Linked DNA regions of Homo sapiens: regions 1 and 3 are each linked to region 2. Evidence: promoter capture Hi-C in 16 types of primary human blood cells and fetal thymus (Javierre and others, 2016). All regions are on one chromosome and are shown on one strand. Each heading gives the region's core, a stretch centred on a gene start or on the middle of the fragment in contact. The rest is flanking DNA. Distances are from core to core; before and after follow the strand shown.

What was found. The method cuts DNA at HindIII sites, captures the fragments that hold promoters and counts their contacts. A CHiCAGO score of 5 or more calls a contact.
Region 1: a contact is called between a fragment that was not itself captured here and the fragment with the promoter of HTR2A-AS1 in region 2, in 2 of 17 cell types (naive B cells and M0 macrophages). The highest score is 6.2, in naive B cells.
Region 3: a contact is called between a fragment that was not itself captured here and the fragment with the promoter of HTR2A-AS1 in region 2, in 2 of 17 cell types (naive B cells and M0 macrophages). The highest score is 7.3, in naive B cells.

What each region holds. Positions count from the first base shown.
Region 1 is chr13:47,776,795-47,779,715 of GRCh38, reverse strand. No RefSeq gene overlaps it. Among named protein-coding and RNA genes, the nearest start is that of LINC00562, 150 kb to the left of the region's middle. The HindIII fragment of the contact is 1,452 bases long and covers 572-2,023 here.
Region 2 is chr13:46,850,481-46,853,747 of GRCh38, reverse strand. HTR2A-AS1 (HTR2A antisense RNA 1) reads right to left here and starts at 1,608. Exons shown (of 2, transcript NR_103752.1): 1 at 1,522-1,608. All of the region lies in intron 3 of HTR2A (5-hydroxytryptamine receptor 2A), which reads left to right. The HindIII fragment of the contact is 4,589 bases long and covers 1,180-3,267 here.
Region 3 is chr13:47,758,673-47,761,811 of GRCh38, reverse strand. No RefSeq gene overlaps it. Among named protein-coding and RNA genes, the nearest start is that of LINC00562, 170 kb to the left of the region's middle. The HindIII fragment of the contact is 4,143 bases long and covers 1-3,139 here.

The DNA.
Region 1 (2,921 bases), core at 48-2,547, 930 kb before region 2:
GCATGTGAGGGATCTAGGTTTTGTGTTCCTTATGAGAATCTAATGTCTGATGATCTGAGGTAGAATAGTTTCATCCTGAACCTAACGACCACCACAGTCCATAGAAAAATTATCTTCCATGAAACCAGTCCCTGATGCCAAAAAGTTTGGGGACCACTGCTTTAGAGGACTACATAAGGATAATGATATTAATAGCCACTATGTATAAGCTAAACACCCCACACAAACATATACATCATCTACTATGCTCATCCAATCCTGATCACTGAGAAGAAGATTGCATTTCAAAGGTGTTAATTAACCCAAGGGTACTTGCTGTGGTGAGGCTTGGCTTCAAATCTGGTTCTCATGGTCTCCAAAGAATGAGTTCCATCAATACCTACTTTATTGAGAGTTTTTAGTATGAAGGGGTGTTGAATTTTATCGAAGGCCTTTTCTGCATCTATTGAGGTAATTGTGTGGTTTTTGTCATTGGTTCTGTTTATGTGATGGATTATGTTTATTGATTTGTGTATGTTGAACCAGCCTTGCATCCCAGGGATGAAGCTGACTTGATTGTGGTGGATAAGCTTTTTGATGTGCTGCTGGATTTGGTTTGCCAGTATTTTATTGAGGATTTTCACATCAATGCTCATCAGGGATATTGGCCTGAATTTTTCTTTTTTTGTTGTCGGTGTAAATTAGTTTGACAATTGTGGAAGACAGTGTGGTGATTCCTCAAGGATCTAGAACCAGAAATACCATTTGGCCCAACAATCCCATTACTGGATATATACCCAAAGGATTATAAATCATTCTACTATAAAGACACATGCACACGTATGTTTATTGCAGCATTGTTCACAACAGCAAAGATTTGGAACCAACCCAAATGTCCATCAATGATAGACTGGATAAAGAAAATGTGGCACATATACACCATGGAGTACTATGCAGCCATAAAAAAGAATGAGTTCATGTCCTTTGCAGGGATATGGATGAAGCTGGGAACCATCATTCTCAGCAAACTAATGCAAGAACAGAAAACCAAACACCACCTGTTCTCACTCATAAGTAAGAGTTGAACAATGAGAACACATGGACACAGGGAGGGGAACATCACACACGGGTTGGGTGGGGGTGGCTAGGGGAGGGGTAGCATTAGGAGAAATACCTAATGTAGATGACGGGTTGATGGGTGCAGCAAACTGCCATGGCACGTGTATACCTATGTAACAAACCTGCACGTTCTGCACATGAATCCCAAAACCTAAAGTATAATTTAAAAAAAAGTTAAAAAAAAAAAAGAATGAGTTCAGGAGATCCCTCTATGACCACACTGTCTCCCTTCCTTACTACTCAATTGATGCCTCCTTTAAGAAGGTAAATGCTTTTATCCAATTTATAGAACTGTTTGAACTTGATGGATATAAATGTAAATGTTTGAATGTTTTTCTCCAATGCCTTTTTCACCTGTGCTTTGTTCAGGCTTCTTTCTCCAGCCATAAATGACATTTTGGGTAGCACCATAGCCCTCAGATCACTTTCAGTTATTCTGTTAATGCAGTCTGTGGGAGGCAGCTTCTGGAATGACCCTCATGTTGGAGAGGCCCATATGGCAGGGAACTCAGGGTCACCTCTGGCCAACAGGAAGGGAGATACTGAGGCCCTCAGTCTAAGAGCTCATAAGTAATGGAATCCTGCCAACAACCACATGAATGAGCTTGGAAGTGGATTCTTCCCAGTGGAGCCCTGAGATTACTGTAACCCCAGCTAGCATCCTGATTGCAGCCTGAAGCAGAACACCCAGCTAAGTTGTACCCAGATTCCTGACCCATAGAAACAGAGTAAATGTGTGTGGTTTTAAGCCACTACATCTCTTATAAGAGACCAAACTGTGTTAGTCCATTCTGGTATTGCTATAAAGAAATACCTGAGGCTGGGTAATTTATAAGAAAGAAGAGTTTGTTTTGGATCATGGTTCTGCAGGCTGTACAGGAAGTGTGGTGCCAGCATCTGCTCCTGGTGATAACCTCAGGAAGCTTCCAATTATGGTGGAAGGAGAAGGGGAACCAGTATGTCATATAGTGACAGAGGGAACAAGAGGGAGAGAAAGGAGAGGTCCCAGACTTTTAGACAACTAGATCTTTCTAGAACTAACAGCAAGAACTTACTTATCCCCAAGGGGATGGAGCTAAACTATTCATGAGGGATCCACCCCTATGATCCAGTCACCTCCCACCAGGCCCTACCTCCAACACTGGGAATCACATTTCAACATGAGATTTGGAAGGGACAAACATCCAACCTATATCAATAATGAATGTACTGACCCAGCTTAAAATTTCAACTGGACATCCAATTTAATGATTATTTTCTATCATCCTCCTTTCCCCTTTCTGTCTGTGGTCAGGAGACTTGCAGAACCTGCCCTTTCATTTCTTCCTCCACCTCTGCTCTTTTGGGTTTCTGTCTCCTTTGGTAGGAGCTGTGGAGGGATATGGAAAGACACAGTGTTTCTTGTCTGACATCTTCATCATTTTTCTGCTGTTACTTTGCTTCTCTGGCTTTGAGTAAATGTCTCTTGGACAAGCATTCCCCTCTTTCAGGACATATGTGTGAGTGGGTTCTTTGTAGAACGCTTTGGAGCTTCCCCGCAGGTTCCTGATCTTTTCTGATTCCTCTATAGAGTCTTCATCCCAGACAATCCACTCTACAGGTTCTCATTGTTGGGATCCACCTGCCAGCAGGATCTTGCGTGGGCATCTGCAAGCTGGCTCAAGTCCAGCTACCTTCAATTTTGTCCATTTTCCGCTGTTCATCTGCCTCCAGCTCTTTCTGCTTTGCTGTTCCTCCCAATTCCAATGGCTGGGTTGAGCAAATAAAACACAGGACACCCAGCTGAATTTGCACTAGATCTTAGCCAAAGGGCCAAGAAGTGA
Region 2 (3,267 bases), core at 359-2,858:
CGTAGATGCTGCCTTGGAAGAGTGTCCACGCTACCCTGGACAGGGGCCTGCCTGCCCACCCAGTGACCATGGCAGGGCAGAGAAAAAGCAATGTCAGCCCAGTATCTTCTCCAGCCAGTGGGGTGGCTTCAGGAGAGGGCTGGGACTGGGGATCTCAACCTTAGCAGCACATTAGAATCATCTGGGGAGGTTTAAAACAGCCTGATACACTTGGCCTCACCTGGAATGCACAAAATCAGAATCTCTATGGATTCAATTCACTATCAGTATTTAAGGCTGCCAGGTGATTCCAGTGTGCTGCCAACAACCACTGAGAGCACACAGCAAGGGAAGAGAGCAACCTGCTGGCTTCTGAGCTCTTTCTCCTCCCAGCCCAAGGGTTAGGGGATTGGGAGTCAGAGAAGTGGCCCAGGCAGATGAGTATGGAGGTGTCCAGCAAGATGTGGACAGATGGAGGATCTGGGAGCCCACATTTCAATGCTAGAGGCCATCTGCCCTAAGGTCCACCTTCCCCTTCTTCCTAATCAAGATCACCAGGAGGCGCACAGGCTGTAACCCCTTCTCCTGGTGTACGATATTAATCACGGCATCTTATATCCCCTGAAGGGGATATAAAGTCACAAGAAAAAATTTCTAGGCATATGAGAAGCACAAACTCTATAAGATACTGACAACAAGCAGACCAACTTTTACCTAACAATTCAGAATAATGCACTATATTAAGGAGAAAAAGAAAAATCAGATAAGAATTACCAGGAACTTTATAGGAAAAAAAAAAGCCCTAGAACTATTATAGGACAGACAAGACCTAAGTAGATAAAAATATAACATGTTCAAATTATTGAGATAACTTACCTTTGTTAACTGTAGAACTAAGGTGTTCATTTTCCACCAGATTATCTACAGTTTCAACAGTTTTAATCCAAAAGTTAAAATTTTTTGAGGAGCATGACTAAGTGATTTTAAAATGTTTATGGGAAAACAAAAGTTCATTACACCCATAGCTTGTATGTGGACAGGCCAAGGAAAGAAATCAGGGCTTCTGTCTCCCAGTCTGGTGCTAATTTCACCCCACCTGTCTACAGCCGTGAACTGCATTTTAACAGCACATAAAGAAATATACTGCATGCAATGCCGCTCCTCATATCATAGAACAATTATCTTAATCATAGGAAAGCTTAGAAGTTAACACATCAGTCTGAATGGCATCATAGCTCATCGTTTGTCCCTTTGACAAAGAACTTTTGTAGCGAATGCCACTCCAAACACACAGGGGCTAAGGCAAGGCTGTTACCGCAGTGGGAAGAGGGTAGCACTCTGTGTAAGCAGACGTGGCCAGCCCAGCCGAGAGAGCCCCCCTTTGCTGACTACCTCCAAGAACGTGGACACCTACAGTGCCGCCCAAGCGCCAGAGCGAGTCCCGGCAATGTGTGCCAGCTCCTTAGTGCTGCTGTAGCAATGACTACAAACTGAAATGACACCTCTGCTGTTGGCTTAAAACAACACAAATTTATTACTTACAGTTTTGGAAGTGAAAAGTCCAAAGTTGGTCTCACCAGGCCAAAACCAAGGTGTCAGTAGGGCTGCGTTCTTTCTGGAGGCACTAGGGAAAAAATATGTCACTGGCCCCTCCAGCTTCTAGAAACCACCTACACTCCTTGGCCCACGGTCCTTTTCCTGTTATCTTCCAAGGTAGCCAGTACAGATTGAATCCTGCTCTTATTGAATCACTTTGACCCAACACACCTTCCTCCCTCTTCCACTTTTAAGGAAATCTGTGATTACATTGGGCCCACCTGGATAATCCAGGGCACTCTAATTATTTCCAGCTCAGCTGATTGACATCTTTAATTCCCATCTGCAACTTTAGTTTATCCTTGCCATATAACACAACATATTCACAGCATCCAGGAGTTAGGCGTAGGCATCTTTGGGGACCATTATTCTGCTGATTACAAAATGCATCAGATTCAAACATTTAGCAGGCTAGAGCTAACACCTTCCTTATTACTATCACAAAATGTAGAAAAGCGGTGAATATATCATCGGGAAGTTTGCAGCTTATTTGGCTGGATCCACAACTGCCTTTCATGCCCAGAATGTTGCTAAAAGGAGAGTCTCTCTCCCAGTTACTCTACATCCATCCTGCCCTTGTAAAGCCACCTGGAAAACTGAAGCAATTTTTCAGAAATCCCTGTTTCCATTATATAAATATTCCGTGCGAAAGTGTTCTTTTGGTCTGACTTATTCTAATAAATGCTCCCATTTAACATGCATATGTGTAATCCAGCAAATTAACTTCTCCACAGGATATTAAAGTTAGTGTGTTTTGTGCTGTATGTATCTGTGCATGTACTATGTTTGAACCAGAATATACAATGTATCAAGGAGCTCATTCTTTATCTTTTTCCTGCATTTTCTTATAAACTATTTGGCTGATTAGATTTTTACTGTGACTTTTGTTTCTTATGTCTTTTAAAATTAGAAATTACTGCCATATTCTCTAGAAAAGTACTATCCAGAAGAAATAGAACTATGAAGATATGAAACTGGTTTTACTAGGAAACACACATATACACAGACACATACACACAAGACATAGTGTTTGTACACCCAGGCTCAGTGATTCAGAATCTTTTTTGTGTTGCAGAGTATTGGGATAATTACCTCTTTCCTGAAAAATGTACGTAGTCACATGAACATGAACTTTTGCACTCCTTTTCAAAGGGTTTCTGCCCCATCCTCACCCCCACCCCAGAAATCATCTATAGGTTAATTTGGAGGAAAAACATTCAACATCAGCACAGGTACGGGACACCAATTAGCTGGGAACCATGGAAAGAAAATAAGCATTGTAAGAAATAGCAGAGAAAATTGTAATTTCAAAAAATGTTGATCTTGGCATTGTGCATTAAAGACTTGCAGTAAAACATAACTGGTCCTTAGCATTAAGTTCTTAAAAGATGGTTTCTATAGCCAGTCTTCCCATAGATAGCATGTAAATGGCTCTAAATGAGAAACGTATAGCCCCTGCAACACAAGCACAGATAAAAGGAGGCCTGTCCCCACAGAAAGATTTCATAGGTAGGACACTGCATGAATTCCAGGCTCCGGATCTAAGAGCCAGCCTTGAGCAGCAATGAAGCAGCAACTCTTCAAGCAGCAACTTTTCTGAAGTGAGGAAGTTTGATCCCCAAGCCTGCATACCTGATGGCGAAAGTGTGCTGAGGCTACAGAGCATAGAAAAATACAGACTACAGAGCCAGG
Region 3 (3,139 bases), core at 168-2,667, 910 kb before region 2:
AGAGAAGGATGTCTGCTTACTCTTACAAGAAGGACTCTATCTACACAGAAGGGTACTTCCTGAGCCTATATAAAGGTTTCTCAATATGTTAGGTGCTAAGCAGAGAGGTGGAGCCTGTGAAATATAGCTTTTATAAAACAAAGGGACTAAGAAGCCCATTTGGAGGAATTCTTTGGCCCAAACTGCAGAGCCATAGGAAAATTGAAGTCATTCTTTAATTATGGAAGCCCTATTTAGGGGTTTTCAATGTGTGGTCAGAGCTTATATCAGAATCATCAGGGAGAAGTTATTTAAAATGCTGATTCCTGGTCAACTCTTTGCCAGCTGAATTAGAATCTCTAGGGTTGGGGCTAGGAAAATCTATGTTGTAAACTAATTTCCCTTATAATTCTTCTAAGTCACTAAATAATGAGTGCTCTAGGGGCCGTCCTTTAAATTTTATACTCTAAACTTGAAGAAAACACTCTCTGTTTGTTATATTGATAATTTTAATGTTATTTTTGGCTTAAATAGTGTGGTAGGCAGAATTCTAAGATGATGCCCAATGACTCACCCCTTGTAAAACTCTTTTTCTTGACTATGGGTAGATCCTGTAGCTTGTGTCTAATCAGTAGACCATAGCAAAAATGATGGAATATTACTTTTTGGATTATGTTACCTTATATAGCAAAGGTAAAGGAATTTTACAGATGTAATTAAACCCCCTAATTAGTTCACTTTAGGTTAACCAAAAGGGAAATTACTTTGGTAGGCCTGACCTAATCAGTTGAGCCTTTTAGACGAGGGTCTAGAGGTAGAGAGAAAAGAAGCAGAGATGTCTTCCTGCTGGCTTTAAGGAAACAAACTGCCACATTGTGGAGAGGGTCATACGGCAGGGAACATGTGCAGCCTCTAGGAGAGAGAGATCCTCAGTCCTACAATCCTAAGACTTGGATCCTGTCAGTAACCAGTGAGCTTGGAAGAGGAGCTCAGCCTCAGATTGCAGCACCAGCTGACATCTTGAGGCAGCCATGTGTGACCCTGAGCTGAAGACCCAGTGAAGATGTGCTGGGATTGTGTGTACTTAGACCCATGGAAACTGTGAAGTAATAAATGTATATTTTCTTCTGCTGATGTTTGTTATACAGTAATAGAAAATTCATGCACATAGTAGAGAATAAAATGTCTTATTTTTCAAGAATTGTGAATTACATATAATCTTCCCAGTTGCTTTGACATCTATAGCAACATTGGGGTCCTGGTACCTGTTGGGGAATAGGAAATCTTTCCAAAAGCTACATGGGAAAAAATTGTTTTAAGAGCATCAGTTTACATATGTTCAACATCCATACATACTCTTTTCTGTGATCTATTGTCTTGGAAAGGAGCCTGCAATTCAGGAAGCCACGTGCATCCTTCTTTTCTGCCTTTGTTTTCACTTTCCAAAAGAAAGGCATAAATTCACACCTCTGAAATCTTACCACAGTGAATAGTTCAGGGGTATAAAAATCTCCAATCCAATGAAAAATATCAGTTATGATGATGATTTCACTGATTAAAGGATTTTATGACTTTCTCTGTCTTTTACATATTTCTGTGGGGTGAAAACTGTGGCATTAGAAATGGTATTTCAGCTTCTGTGGCAATGCTCCAAACTCAAATATATTGTAAAGTAGGGTAGCAGAAGAGATGACATTTTCTTATATCCCCTACTTGTCAATGACTGCAATACTTCCCAGGGAGAGGCACATGAGAGGAGAGAGAAGGGAATATGCTCCATTCTCTCTTCACTTCAGGATGCAGTCACAGAGCAGCTCCTACCTGGTATGTGGCAGTGCTCACAACAGAAGGAAGAGACATAGCAGTAAAACGTGGTTGCTCCTAAAGATGCTTGGAAATATTGAAGATCAGAGAAGCCTTATTTTGTCCAGGTAGCAACTTCATGGAAAAGGTCTGTTTCAATATATATATCTATGTTAGAATTCAGAAGTGAGATGCTTGTTACAAGAACATGTGTTAACAGTTACTTAGATTGAAAAACGAGGACAGACTTTTTCTAATAGAAAGCAAATCCAATTTGACTGATTGATTTTGTAATGACAACTGGCTTTGCGTGGTGGATACCTCCACAAGTTGACAGAGCTGAGTCTGCAGTTATGAGGTTTGGATGCATATATTGAATGATCAGATAAAAATATGTTATCAGCTGGGTGTGGTGGCTCACACCTGTAATCCTAGCACTTTGGGAGGCCGAGGCGGGCAGATCACCTGAGATCAGGAGTTTGAGACCAGCCTGGCTAACATTGTGAAACCCCGTTTCTACTAAAAATACAAAAAATTAGCCAGGTGCGGTGGCTCGTGCCTGTAATCCAAGCTACTTGGGAGGCTAAAGCAGGAGAATTGCTTGAACCCGGGAGGTGGAGGTTGCAGTGAGCCGAGATCATGCCATTGCACTCCAGCTTGGACAACAAGAGTGAAACTCTGTCTCAAAAAAAAAAAAAAGTTATCAAAAATATTTTTTGTAAGGAGTACTATAATTAACAATATTTTCATTTTCCAAATTCATTCTATATTAGATTACACAAAATGTTTTCACGTAGAGTAGCAGGTATATATATTTGTTGATAAGCCTCAGTAAAGCCATTTAAAAAATAATTCTCAGAAATTAAGTGAATGAGTATAGTGACGAGATAATGAATAATTTTAAAACTCAGTTATTTACAATTCTTAGGTTTTGACAAAATTAAAGGAGAATCTAATTGAGTTGTCAGCCAATAAAACATTAAAATAATTTTTGACAGATTGCAATATAATTTTTGGCATTTAAGTCAGAAGCAAAATTTTTTTCATTCTAATTTACTTACCTATGTGAAGAATTTTTTAATTGCTTACATCTATAAAAATGAAAAAAGAGTAATGGATTTGATTTTGAAAGAGTTTGAATAGGTGACTAATAATATCAGAATTTGACTTTGTGGGGAAAGTAAATTGAAAAATATAAGTTCTGGAGCAAAAAGGAATGATGTAAATTTTCTAACTATCAAAGAAAACTTATTTATGTCATTTTAAACCATATGATAGCTTGTCTTATGACTAGATATTTTACCCAATTTGGCATGTTTGAAAGAATGATGGAATAGTTTTATTTAAATGGTTGATT